Linked DNA regions of Homo sapiens: all the other regions are linked to region 1. Evidence: promoter capture Hi-C in human tissues and cell types (Jung and others, 2019). All regions are on one chromosome and are shown on one strand. Each heading gives the region's core, a stretch centred on a gene start or on the middle of the fragment in contact. The rest is flanking DNA. Distances are from core to core; before and after follow the strand shown.

What was found. Contacts are between HindIII fragments. The study calls those that stand out against the background at their distance.
Region 2: a contact is called between a fragment that was not itself captured here and the fragment with the promoter of C21orf91 in region 1, in 1 of the 25 tissues and cell types used here (pancreas).
Region 3: a contact is called between a fragment that was not itself captured here and the fragment with the promoter of C21orf91 in region 1, in 2 of the 25 tissues and cell types used here (H1 embryonic stem cells and lymphoblastoid cells).
Region 4: a fragment that was not itself captured here is called in contact with the fragment with the promoter of C21orf91 in region 1 in 2 of the 25 tissues and cell types used here (mesenchymal stem cells and pancreas).
Region 5: a contact is called between a fragment that was not itself captured here and the fragment with the promoter of C21orf91 in region 1, in 4 of the 25 tissues and cell types used here (dorsolateral prefrontal cortex, hippocampus, mesenchymal stem cells and 1 more).

The regions. Positions count from the first base shown.
Region 1 is chr21:17,818,083-17,820,615 of GRCh38, forward strand. C21orf91 (chromosome 21 open reading frame 91) reads right to left here and starts at 1,274. Exons shown (of 5, transcript NM_001100420.2): 1 at 1,221-1,274; 2 at 110-243. The coding sequence starts at 236. The region is part of intron 2 of LOC124900465 (a long non-coding RNA gene); the gene reads left to right. RefSeq lists a silencer at 889-1,668 and an enhancer at 1,919-1,968. The HindIII fragment of the contact is 15,791 bases long and covers 1-2,533 here.
Region 2 is chr21:17,580,716-17,583,248 of GRCh38, forward strand. It overlaps a transcript of CXADR not described here. Among named protein-coding and RNA genes, the nearest start is that of BTG3-AS1, 30 kb to the right of the region's middle. The HindIII fragment of the contact is 6,058 bases long and covers 1-2,533 here.
Region 3 is chr21:17,636,691-17,639,223 of GRCh38, forward strand. No RefSeq gene overlaps it. Among named protein-coding and RNA genes, the nearest start is that of BTG3, 25 kb to the left of the region's middle. The HindIII fragment of the contact is 6,299 bases long and covers 1-2,533 here.
Region 4 is chr21:17,653,260-17,655,792 of GRCh38, forward strand. No RefSeq gene overlaps it. Among named protein-coding and RNA genes, the nearest start is that of BTG3, 42 kb to the left of the region's middle. The HindIII fragment of the contact is 5,313 bases long and covers 1-2,533 here.
Region 5 is chr21:17,673,850-17,676,382 of GRCh38, forward strand. LOC124904999 (a long non-coding RNA gene) reads right to left here and starts at 570. Exons shown (of 2, transcript XR_007067821.1): 1 at 507-570. The HindIII fragment of the contact is 4,548 bases long and covers 1-2,533 here.

The sequences.
Region 1 (2,533 bases), core at 24-2,523:
CTTAGCACAATTTCCAATCATTGAAGACATTTTAGTTTTACCTTACAATCAGTACAAAGCAGCTGTGTTAAATTCATTCCATAAGATCAAAACTATACTGTGTCCTTACCCTCAATATTTAGCTCAAAACAAATGTGGCAGAAGGAGAGTGTTTCTTTGTCTGTTCCCAGTTTACAAACACTGCAAATGTTGTCATCATTCAAATCAATGTTTACAAACTGCTCCTCTTCGTTCATAGTGCCCCTATTAAGAAACAGAAAAGGAAAGTTACACAATTTCATGAACCTGCCTTTGGGGTAGTTCCCTTTACTGGGAACTTCTAGGAAATAAGGATGCTGTTCAGCTCATTTAAAGCAAAAGCTCCATCAAACAAGCATCGCCATACTTGCACTCCAACATTGCACTTTTCCTGTGGAAAGACACAAAGCTAGTAAAACTTAAAGCCAGGCCATAGGTGACACTATGTCCGTGTCTTTTTTGTCCTATAGTTGATTGGGTTAGTGGCACCTGAAGGAAAGAGATTTGCCGGCATTCTAGTCCTCCTCCTTCGTCCCCCAACCTCGAATAATCAGAGGGCTTAGCAGCGAGGCCTTTTCAGCTACCAGGTTCTGTCAACCTAGTTAACGCTGTGAGAAACAGGAAAAACGACCTGCACGGGACACTGCTTTGCTAACTTCATTGGGGGAACCTCAGATGCGCCTCGCGAACTCGGAGTTGCGAAGCTTCGCATCGAACGGAGATCGGCGGCAGCAAAATGCACGTGGGTACCGAATACCCGGGGAGGGCGTCCCGCCGTGTCCGGGGCAACTACACCGAAGGCCGAGCGGCGGCTTCACGGTACCGGCCGGGCACCGCCGGAGGGGCCCAAGCCGGAGCTGGGAGAGCCGCGGCATCCTGGAGCCCGGCGGGCGGGAGAGCCTCGTCCCATCGCTCCGGGATTCCTCCCAGAGGGAAGAAAGCGTCCGAGGGCCACGGCGGCCGGTCCGCCCAGCCTCAGCGTCTCGGGGAGCCGGGTCCTGGCCCGGCCTTCGGCGTTGGGGGCGCGCGGCCGCCCCCAGGGAGTCGCGGACCCAAGTCCGTCTTTCCGTCGGTCTGTCCGTCGGGGCGCCTGGCGCGCAGCAGCGCGAGGGGCCACGGGGCTCGGAACTCGAAGGAGGCGGAACGATGGGACTGGGGGTCGGGGCTCAGGTGGGATGGGAGCAGGGCTGCGGGGTCTTTACCGTCCGGCTCCGCGGGCCACCACCGCCGTTCCGTGCGGCTCGGGTTCCTCCACTATTGTTTCCGGCCGCAGCAGAGGCGGCCGCCGCGCGCCTGGCCCCGCCCTCTCCCGCCGGCTCCATCCCGTAAAGGCTGCGGGGAGGGTGGCGCGGCCGCGGGCACACCTGCGCGCTCGCCGGGCTGCTGTGGGTCCGCCCCTCCGCTCCTGCACCGACGCCGCACCTTCGCCTCGAGTTCTCCTGTGATCCCGTGTTTCCTGGCCGGAGTTTCTTACCGTTCTCTGGAACGTAGCTCCTCACACACCCCTCCTCGAGGTGCGTAGATAGACGAATCCGTTCCACCTCTCCCTTCAGCCTAGTGCAAACTACTGCCCCGGGGCGGGGGCCGCAGGCGGCGGGGGTAGGAAAGCCGCGGGTGGATGGCAGAACGGGAGAGGTGCGTGGGTGGCACTTTGACTTCAGGAGAAAGAAGCAGAATACTGTCACTGAACTTATAGTTAAGTGCCAGTTGAAGTATCTAACGAAGGAAAAGTTCATATTCAGGTGTCATGATAGAGGCATAATTTCAAATACAGAATCTTTTCAAATACATTATTTGTTGTGGGGCGCCCCTGCCCCCAATATGGTACATCCCTCAACGCCCACGGGAAAAATCCCGAAGCCCCACCTCTTATTTTTAGGTCCTGCTTGGTTCTCAAATTCTTTGCTTGACTTTTGTTTAAGCTATTCTGTTTTTTTTAGGGTATGGTTCTTGCAGTACTTTCACTTACATTTTCCATTGTAGTCCTCACAGTAACCTACAGAGGAGAAACAGGAACTGTTCTCTCATGTTGCAGCCTACGAGTAATTGACCCAGGTTATCACAGTTGGTTAGAAAAAGGCTGGGACTTGAACCGAAGGCTACTGACCTAAGATCAATGTTATTTTCTACAGCATCATATGTATGTGTTCTGGTTGCACTCACATAGAAAGAGGGCTAGCCTGTCAATCTACATGTAGGCATTCTTGAACTGATGGTTAGGAATGGACTGTCTAGATCTTGGAAACTTCTGGGCCAAATTAGCACTCCAGTTATGGCATTTGTGCCTCGCAGGAGCGATCTGTGTCCTTGCCACCTAAATTGTAGTAGATGAACAAACAACATTGACATTACTTGGTTTCCTGTTAGAAATGTAGAATCTCAGGCCCCACTCGAGATTTCCTAAATCAATACTTGCACTTTAACAAGACCGCCAGGAGATTCCTATGTTCATCGAAGTTTGAGATGCACTAATTGAAATGAAAAGCCTGTGCTTTTTCTCTTCGAATTTCTCATT
Region 2 (2,533 bases), core at 21-2,520, 240 kb before region 1:
GGCATATACATGTATTTTTTAAAAAATAAAAGTTAATACAATGTTTCTTTTTTGAGACAGAGTCTTGCTCTGTCACCCAGGCTGGAGTGCAGAGGGGTGATCATGGCTCACTGCAGCCTCAACCTCCAGGGCTCAAGCAGTCCTCCCACCTCATCCTCCCAAGTGACTGTAACTATGGGCACGCACCAGTACACCTGGCCAATCTTTAATTCTTTTGTAGGGAGGAGGTCTCACTATGTTGTCCAGGCTGGTCTCAAACTCTTGGGCTCAAGTGATCCTCCTGCCTTAGCCTCCCAAAGAGCTGGGATTATAGGCATGAACCATCTTGCTAGGTCACAAACTTGTTTTTAATTTAACAATTGCTCTCAGGTCATTCTGTATTTCCCTTTGTATCTATTATCTTTGGTACAAAGCAAGCTTTTTTTCTCCCAAAACTGTATAGTGTTACATCAAAGTGATACACTATAACGTATATAATCAGTTTCCAATTGATGGTCATTTAAATTAATCCCATCCTTTTGGTATAACAAGTAAAATTACAATCAATATATATGTATATATGTCATTTTGTGTATGTATAAATATATCTTTAAAATAAATTTCTAAAAGGAGCAAATGAGTAAAGAATATTTTGATAGATACTATTAAAACAGCATCCTAAGTGTTGTGGCAGCTTATGCTTTCAATATATGAGAGTGTTTATCCCCTGAAAATCTTCACCATACTTTTATCCAACTTCTTGATCTTTCCTGACCTCAGGAGAAAATTATCACATGGTTTAAAAGTCTACCTCTCTTTCAATTTGCTCAGTTGAGCATCTTTTTCTTTGTTTAAAAACATTTGTAGGACCAGACACGGTGGCTCACACCGGTAATCTCAGCACTTTGGGAGGCTGAGGTAGGAGGATCACTTGAGGCCAGGAGTTCAAGACCAGCCAGGGCCAACATAGTTGAGACCCTATCTCCACAAAAAATAAAAAATTAGCTGGATGTGGTGGCATGTGCCTGTAGTCCCAGCTACTCAGGAGGCTGAGGTGGGAGGATCACTTGAGCCCAAGAAGATTGAGGCTTGCAGTGAGCTCTGACAACACTGCAACTCCAGCCTGGGGTGACAAAGGCTAAGACTCTGTCTCAAAAAAAAAAAAAATTATATTTTTGAGAATTCCATTTTTCCTTTGTACTAGTAGTCTGGCTAATTTGGGAGGAGTTTGTTTGTTTGTTTGTTTGTTTGTTTTGTTTGTTTTGACGGCGTTTCACTCTTCGTTGCCCAGGCTGGAGTGCAGTGGCACAATCTCGGCTCACTGCAAACCTCTGCCCTCCCGGGTTCAAGTGATTCTCCTTGTCTCAGCCTCCTGAGTGGCTGGGATTACAGGCACCTGCCACACATTTCCTAAGGCCACATAGCTAGGAGTGGGAATCTAGGTCTCCCTGAATTCCTGGGTCTAGCCGAACACACCCAGGTAATTTTTGTATTTTTAGCAGAGACAAGGTTTCACCATGTAGGCCAGGCTGGTCTCGAACTGCTAACCGCAGGTGATGCACCCGCCTTGGCCTCCCAAAGTGCTAGGATTACAGGCATGAGCCACCGCAGCCCGCTGGAGGAGCTTTTAAATATTAATAATATTAGTTCTTTGTGATTTGACCCGCAACTTTTCCCCTCAAGTTATCTGACTGTTTGTATTTGCCCTTTTATGGCTATGTAATCTTAATCCTTCCTAAGTCCCACAGAGAAGCCATTTCCAAACCATTCTGGTTCAACACTGACTTATCTCTCCCTCCTTGAAATTGTACCCTCACTGGGAGCTCAGGGTCACCTGTCTTTTCATGTGTTTATCTCCTATCTCTAAGCAGATGTCAGAGTTCTGAAAGGCAGAAACATCTTTACATCTAACTGTTCAACACATAAACTCTCAGTAATCTTTGCTGATGATAATAATTGTAGCAGCTCTGGCTGTGTTCATATCAAGCCATTGCTGCATGTATCGCCATAACAGTGTGTCTCCTTGATTTATCTTTGGTTTCTTCAAGTTGTCGGAATTTTTGCCAAGAGCAGTTTTATGGAATCAGCACAAACTAATGAAGAAAGTGAGTTATCTTGCATTTGAAAAGATGTGTCTAGGTTACATCTTAGGTCAGCTGTCACACACTATCCCAAGTTCAATGTTGGCTGCTGGCACTGTGCTCTTTTAATGTTTCTAAGTAAGACATCTTCTCACATAGTCCCAGAACTGTCAACAATGAGATAATTTTTTGGGAACAGGAGAATGACCTTGCGATTCTGGGAGGAGAGAACGTGATAGAAAAGATATCAGTGACTGCAATTTGCAACCTGTTGGGAAATCATAGTCCTCTAACATTCACCAGTCTTTTAATCTGACAAGGAGGGGACATTTTATGTGTTCACAGAAACGAGAGAACACAAAGTAAAATTAAACAATTACATGAGAGGAACCATAATCTCTGCCTTCTCAAGTAAAAGATACTATCTGCTGTGTTCGGGACATGATAAAGATGTGCTATATAGTAGACCAGGA
Region 3 (2,533 bases), core at 20-2,519, 180 kb before region 1:
ATTAGCAGACATGATATTGATACTAACAGTTGCTGTTTCATTTATCTAATGCTGTGCAACAAAACATGGCAAAGTCTAGTGACTTAAACAACGACGACATTTAATACGCTCAGGTCTGGATTGCGACAGGGATCAGCTGCAGTGGCTCAAGGACTAAGGCTGGAATAATCTGAAATCTTGCTTCCTCACATGTCTGGGAGTTGATTTTGGCTGTTAGCTGATGGCTCCACTGGGACAGTGCCTGGAACACCTTCACTGGCTCCTCTATGCAGCTGCTTGGCATCTGCACAGAATGGTGGCTGAGCTGCTTTTTATGACTCAGCCTTGGATATCACATGGTGTTACTATTGCTGTAGTCATAGGCTTACCTCTCTATTCAAGGGGAGAGGACCTGACCCCACATTTTTTTCTTTAAGTCTCCTATCGCTTTTTTTTTTTTTTTTTTTTGAGACAAGTCTCACTTTGTCACCCAGGCTGGAGTGCAGTGGTGCGATCTCGGCTCAATGCAACCTCCACCTCCCAGGTTCTCCTGCCTCAGCCTCCCGGGTAGCTGGGATTACAGGCTCCTGCCACCACGCCAGGCTAATTTGTTTTTGTTTTTTTCTTTTGTATTTTTAGTAGAGACAGGGTTTCACCATGTTGGCCAGGCTGGTCCCAAACTTCTGACCTCAGGTGATCTACCTGCCTGGTCCTCCCTGAAGGCTGGGATTACAGGCCTGAGCAACTGTCCCCGGCCAGACCCCACTTCTTGACAGTAGAATGCCAGATACAATTTGCCCGAAAGTGCTTACATGCCCATGCGCTAATGTCTGAACAAGGTTGTTTCACTTCTACAAATGTTAGCCAAAACACTCTTTTTCCCTCCCTCCCTCCCTCCCTCCTTCCCTTCCTTCCTTCCTTCCTTCCTCCTTTCCTTTCTTCCTCCCTTCCTTCCCTTTTCCCAGATAATTTTTTTAAAAAGAAAAATTGGGCCATGTTGTTTGCTCACTTAAAATGTTTCAATACTTCTCATTATAAATCAAATACAGCCAGGCGTGGTGACTCGCGCCTGTAATCCCAACACTTTGGGGGGCCAAGGTGGGTGGATTGATACCTGAGGTCAGGAGTTCCAAAACAGCCTGGCCAACACGGTGAAACCCTGTCTCTACTAAAAAACACAAAATTTAACCGGGTGTGGTGGCACAATCTGTAGTTCGAGCAACTCAGCAACTCAGGAGGCTGAGGTGGGAGAATTGCTTGAACCTGGAGGTGGAGGTTGCAGTGAGCTGAGCGAGATCTCACCACTGCACTCCAGCCTAGACGACAGAGCGAGAACCTGTTTCAAAAATAAATAAATAACTAAAAAGAAATAAATCAAATACAATTTTTTTTTTTTTTTGCTGCAGTTTATGAGGCCTGGTTTATCACTCCAATTTCATCTCATTTTATTCTGCCCTCTCCTTGCTGTGCTTCTGTTACTGGACATGTCAGATCCACAAACATATCTGCCTCTTTTGCTCTACTGCTTTGCACATGCTCTTTGCTCCTCCTGGGACATTTCCTCCAGCACATTGAATGGGCCAGCCCCTGCTCGTTCCTCACTTCTCAGGGGACCTTTTAATAGATGACCAGCTAAGACATTACATATCAACGTTTATGTTTACTAATTTATTGTTTATTTCCCCCTGTGATATAAAGTTTCACAGCCACAGAAACCTTGCCAGTTTGGTCACTATTGTATATCTGTTAGTAGTATGTTTGGCATGTCATCATAATCTGATGAACTAGATACTGTTATTATCAATAGGAACTGAAGCCCAAGGCTCAGAAATGGCACAGCCACACTGGAATCCAGGTTCTCGGACTCCAGAAGCAATATTCGTATTTGCCCTGCTCTGGATGATTTAGCAAAAGAGGGAAAGGATGCATCGGTTGAGTGTGTCATAGTTAATTGAGAAAGGACTCCATGAAGGCAAGGCCACTTGAGCAGGGCCTTGAGTGATGCATATGCATACATTTTGTCAGATGGTGATTGAAAAAAAGGGTATTACAGGTGGTGGGAAGAGTGTGAACAGAAATAGAGTTGAGAAAGCACTTGTACAGTCTAAGAATAGTGAGTAATTGTAGAATAGGTTGTGGAGGATTTAAAACTGGAAAGGTAGGTTGCATCATTCTGTAGGTAATTAGAAGACATTAACATTGTTTTGTGAAGAGGAGACTCCATCTGTGCTTTAGAAAGCTAAAGCTGCACAGGCAAAGTGTAAGGAGTCAGATGTTGGTCTTGAACAAATCGTATATATACCTAGAATATCATTTTACTTATTTATAAAATGGAAGCTGAGTGCAATGGCTCACAACTGTGATCCCAACACTTTGGGAGGCTGACATGGGAGGACTGCTTGAGGCTAGGATTTTAAGACCAGCCCAGGCAACAGAGTGAGCCCCTTTCTCACAAAAAGTAAAAAATAAATACAATTTGAAAGATGAGAATATAAATAACATCATGTTCATAGTTTTTGGTGAGAGTTAAATAAGATGATCATGTGAAAGTACT
Region 4 (2,533 bases), core at 15-2,514, 160 kb before region 1:
CATGTGCCCCAGAACTTAAAGTATAATAAAAAAAGATTTAAAAAAGACAAAACAAACAAAAACCAGATAGACATCCATAAAGTAAAACAAATGAGAAAAACTGGCTAAACTTCTCAAACTAAATTATATCAAATATATATATGCATTTTTGCAAAATAAAGTACTAAACTATTCTTTGTAGACATATTCATTACATTTATTTTAATAACTACTTTGATATAGGTTGACTGGCTCTATTCTATTTGTTAAAGAAGGCAAATGTTCCCAGCCATGTTTTACATTAACATGAATTATACTGCCTTTTTTGTTTTTCTGTTTTGGTTTTTTTTTTTTTTTTTTAAGGGGATTTCACTCTTGTTGCCCAGGCTGGAGCGCAGTGGTGTGATCTCTGCTCACCACAACCTCCACCTCCTGGGTTCAAGCGATTCTCCTGCCTCAGCCTCCCGAGTAGTTTGGATTACAGGCATGCGCCACCACGCCCGGCTAATTTTTGTATCTTTTAGTAGAGATGGGGTTTCTCCATGTTGGTCAGGCTGGTCTCGAACTCCCGACCTCAGGTGATCCGCCCACCTCAGCCTCCCAAAGTGCTGGGATTATAGGAGTGAGCCACCGTGCCCAGCCTGAATTATACTGTTTAATGAAGACCCAGCTTTTCATTTGTTTTAAATCAAAGTTATAGGTGCACAAAGTTTAAAAAATAAAATAATTCAACAGAATATTCCAAATACTCCTTACCTCCTGTGATCCATTTTTTTCTACTCAGGATCAACCACTTTCAACTCTTACCTGTTTTGTTTCTTTCTCAGGTATATGACCTTGATGTTTCTAAATAATGTGCTAATATTTCCAGTCTTGTTTTTCCCCAGCCATTATCTATTAATATTTACATCCCATTTTGTTTTGTTAAAATTTTTTATTCTTAATTATGGATACAAAATAGTGGTATAGCTTCCCATTTTGGAAAATGGTGACTCCTCTTTACTTCTCATATCTATACTCCACCCCCATCCCATCACATGAATTCTTCTTTGCTCCCCATCTTTCTAAGGTGGTTATATTATTATTTAAGTTGTAACAAATTATTGTATGATGATGATGATGATGCAAATGCTATTCACAACTATGCCTTGTAGAATACAATGATTTATACAAATATGATTGTTTTTCCTATTTAAAGCCTGGTTTTCTCTAAATTAAATAGCTGTCCTTAAATATTTTTATATTAGTTTTCTATATAATCCTAATTCATACTTTCTGCCAATTGCCTAAATCTCTCCTGGTGTTGCATACCCCTGATGCACTCCTTCTCGAAGATGATAATTTGTTTTAATCTGGAAAGGCTGATCTCAGAGCTGGTCACACAGCTGTATTCATGGAATTGACTATGACCACACTCCTGCCATTTCATTCACCTCTCTCCCCTGTCCCCAGGGTTTCATGTCTTCATTTTTCTTGGTTTACCCACTGACTTTACTTAAGCACATTCTCCAGGTGGTTATCTTAGAGAGGGTGCAGGTGATGTAAAATTCTTGATACCTGAATGTCTGAAAACATTCTTATTCTTCTCTCATACTCAATTGATAGCTTGGCTAGATACAGATGTCTATATTGAGAAATGCTTTCTTTCAGAATTTTTAAGATGTTGCTTTTCTAACTTCCAGTGTGCTGCTGAAAAATCCAAGGCTATTCAGATTCTTGGTCTTTTTAGGTGACCATTTCCCCTCCTCTTTGGAAGCTTGCCTTTGTCCCCAGTTTTAAGACTTTGTGATGATGTGACTTCAGTATGGTTTACTCTTAGCCATCATCTGCACACTATGAATTCTCTTTTAATCAGAATACTTAGGTCATTCTGTTCTGAGAAACTCACTTGAAATACTTCTTAAATAATTTTCTCAGCCTTATTTTCTCTGTTCTATTTCTTGAGAACTCTTATTTGAATATTGAACTTATGAACTTGTCCTCTAAGTTTCTGATTTTTTTCTTCTCTTTTTTATTTTTGGTTCTGCTTTCTGGAAGATTTCTCCAATTTTATTTTGTGAAACTTCTATTGAGTTTGTCATTTATGCCATTACGTATATTTTTCTTTTCACTCAGCACGTTCTAGTCTCACCATTATATTTTTAAAGAATCTAATCTTTTATATTTTTATTTATTGGATATTCCTTTTCTTATGGCAGGCTATACTTGTTTCATGGAAACAATATCTTCTCATAGTTCCCTGAGGATATTAATGATAATACATTTTCTTCCCTCTGTGTCATCTCTGGTTCTTTTGGTTTGCTTACACTTTAACTTTGTTTTCTATTTTTTGTATTAGATGTCTTAAGTATCTAGTGATCCTTCATTGTTTGCATATATTTAAGAATATGGCTCACTTAGAGTGTGTACGTGGAGATTGTGAACTTTGTTGTGGGGATATCTGTGTAGGTCAGTGTCATGTAATATTGTTAGCAGTGGCAAATCTGTACAGGTGTGCAGTGACTCAATTCTTGCCTCCTCTGAGGAAAGAATTTGGCTAAGGGGCATAAGATAG
Region 5 (2,533 bases), core at 17-2,516, 140 kb before region 1:
ACGTTGTGGGATTATATTTTTCTTCCTGACTCCTAGAAAAATATAAATGTCATCGACGTTTGATCTCATCTAGGTAGTTTGAAGGCTCTTCGTTTGTGGGTAGGAAAGTTAATGCCACAAAATGTACTAAAATTCAAAAACATTCCAACTTTAATGATTCACAGCAAAGTCAGAATGCAGGTCAGATGCTGTATTTCTGATATTTAAAAAATACAAAAAGAATTCTTTGAAAGTATGTTTCCAAAAGACAGTAGACATTTGTACTATTTATCATTCAGCAAGAGCTAAATAGCATAGGAACATGGTTATTCTAAGTTACATTTTGAAAAAAGAGAAACAAAACAATTATTTCTGAAAACAGCAAAAACATCAAGCTTGCTAATTTGAACAGTTTTGACAGTTGACACAAAGGAGAGAAAAGGGCCTTTTATGTGTTGTATAAGGAAGATCTGTTGAAGAAAATTAGCTCCTACAGGAATAGGATTGATAATGTGACATATACTCACTCTGATCTAAATTTAACATCTTCCCACGTTCTCATTGCTCCAATGCCCTTCGAGTTACTATAGTGATCCTACCTTGCCATTCAACATTTAATTCCTAGGTAACAGACAACAACCGTGGCGACCAGGGAAGGAATAGGCAAAAATCTATTTATTAAATATTATCTGGAGTTACTTGCTTGAAAAAACATCTCCCCCACAACCCCAGCAGATTTTGGGCTGAGTTACAACTAAAATATAAATTGTACAAGAAGAACCAAGAAGAATTTTCAGGCTCCAATTTTGAGTTTTAGAATCTTGACATAATGGCACAGACCCCCAAAATAAAGATTCTGAAATAAGCACTTTTCATCTGGAGCTGGCCTGGAAAGTCTCTCTTAATGCTTGATGGAGCTGTAGGCAAGGAAATACCCTCAACTAGTTGCGGCTTCTGTTCCATCCACTGATGTTGTACCATATGCTTATCCTTCCTCTAAAATGGGCAGATACATGATGTGAGAGTTTTTTCTCACAAAATTAGCTTGCATTAGAAACTTCCAAATGAAAGACTCTTCTGACCACTGGAAAAACAGAGTAAGTACTTACTAGGTTCGTGCAAAAGTAATTGAGGTTTTTGCATCACTTTAATGGCAAAACCGCAATTAACTTTTGCATTAAACCTCATACATACATCATGTAAGTATACTTATATACATACTTTAAAAATATCTTCTCAGTAGCCTTCTCTTTCAGCTCTCCAGTAAAAGGGCGTCCAAAGATGGTAGCCTTCTCTTTCAGCTCTCCAATAAAAGGATGTCCAAAAACGCATACCTGAGGAGCACAAAAATACCCCACTATTTCCAGGTATTGGTCCTGTGGCAGGCCAGGTCTCACTAATGCAGTCTTCCATAACACCTGCTTCGGTACTGACTGACTGGCTAAGTTTTAAAAGCCAGTGCCCTTATACAAAGACTGGAATGTAACAAAAGCCCACCAAGAGTTTTGCCTAGGCTTTTCCTGAGCCTTAAAGCATAACAAAATAACGAAGGAATCCTTAACGGGACCCATTTAGGATTAAACAAGTTTTATTGGGAGTCTGAAGAAACTCCCCAGGCTTCACAAAGAAGCTTATTGGGGTTCTGAAGGAACTCCCCAAACCTCCATGATTTAGCAGGAGACAAGATAAGGGTAATCACCCCAGCACCTGGACCCATTTAGATCAAGTAAATTTATTGAGGTTCCAGGGGAAGGTCTCAGGACTCAGACCTTAGTTATAGATTAAAAGAAGTTAATCATGGCCAGGCATGGTGGCTCAAGCCTGTAATCTCAGCACTTTGGGAGGCTGAGGCAGGTGGATTGCCTGAGGTCAGGAGTTCGAGACAGCCTGGCCAACGTGGTGAAACCCCATCTCTACTAAAAATACAAAAATTAGCTGGGTGTGGTGGCAGGTGCCTGTAATCCCAGCTACTCAGGAGGCTGAGCCAGGAGAATCGCTTAGAACCCGGGAGGCAGAGATTGCAGTGAGCCAAGATTTCACCACTGCATTCCTGCCTGGGTGACAGAGTAGTGAGATTCTGCCTCAAAAAAAAAAAAAAAAAAAAAGGAAAAAAAGTTAATCACATGTGTCTTTAGATGAATGCACACTTACATGTAGACATATAGCTTACAAGGTATATAAGCGCTGGAAAACTTTGTGATTTTGAGTTGGTCTGGTGATAATTTCCAGGCCTTCTCCCTGTAAACGGCTGCAGAAATAAAAACTCTCTTTCTCCCCAGTTCATCTGCATCTCGTTATTGGGCCACGAGAAATAGCAGCCTGATAGTCAGTTACATCTGGGAACAGTCCTACAATGCAGTTTTCTGTGTTAGAAATAGCAATAAATCCATTCGAATGCAGGGTCCTGAACTAAGAACCCGTACTTTAAAATCTAACTTTTTCATTGCCATGGAGTGAGCAAAGGGGAACACAAACAAAAAATTAATAAAAGCAGACCAAAAGTACACTAGAAAAGTAGACAGTGAAAAAAGGAAAGGAGAGATAGATATGACGA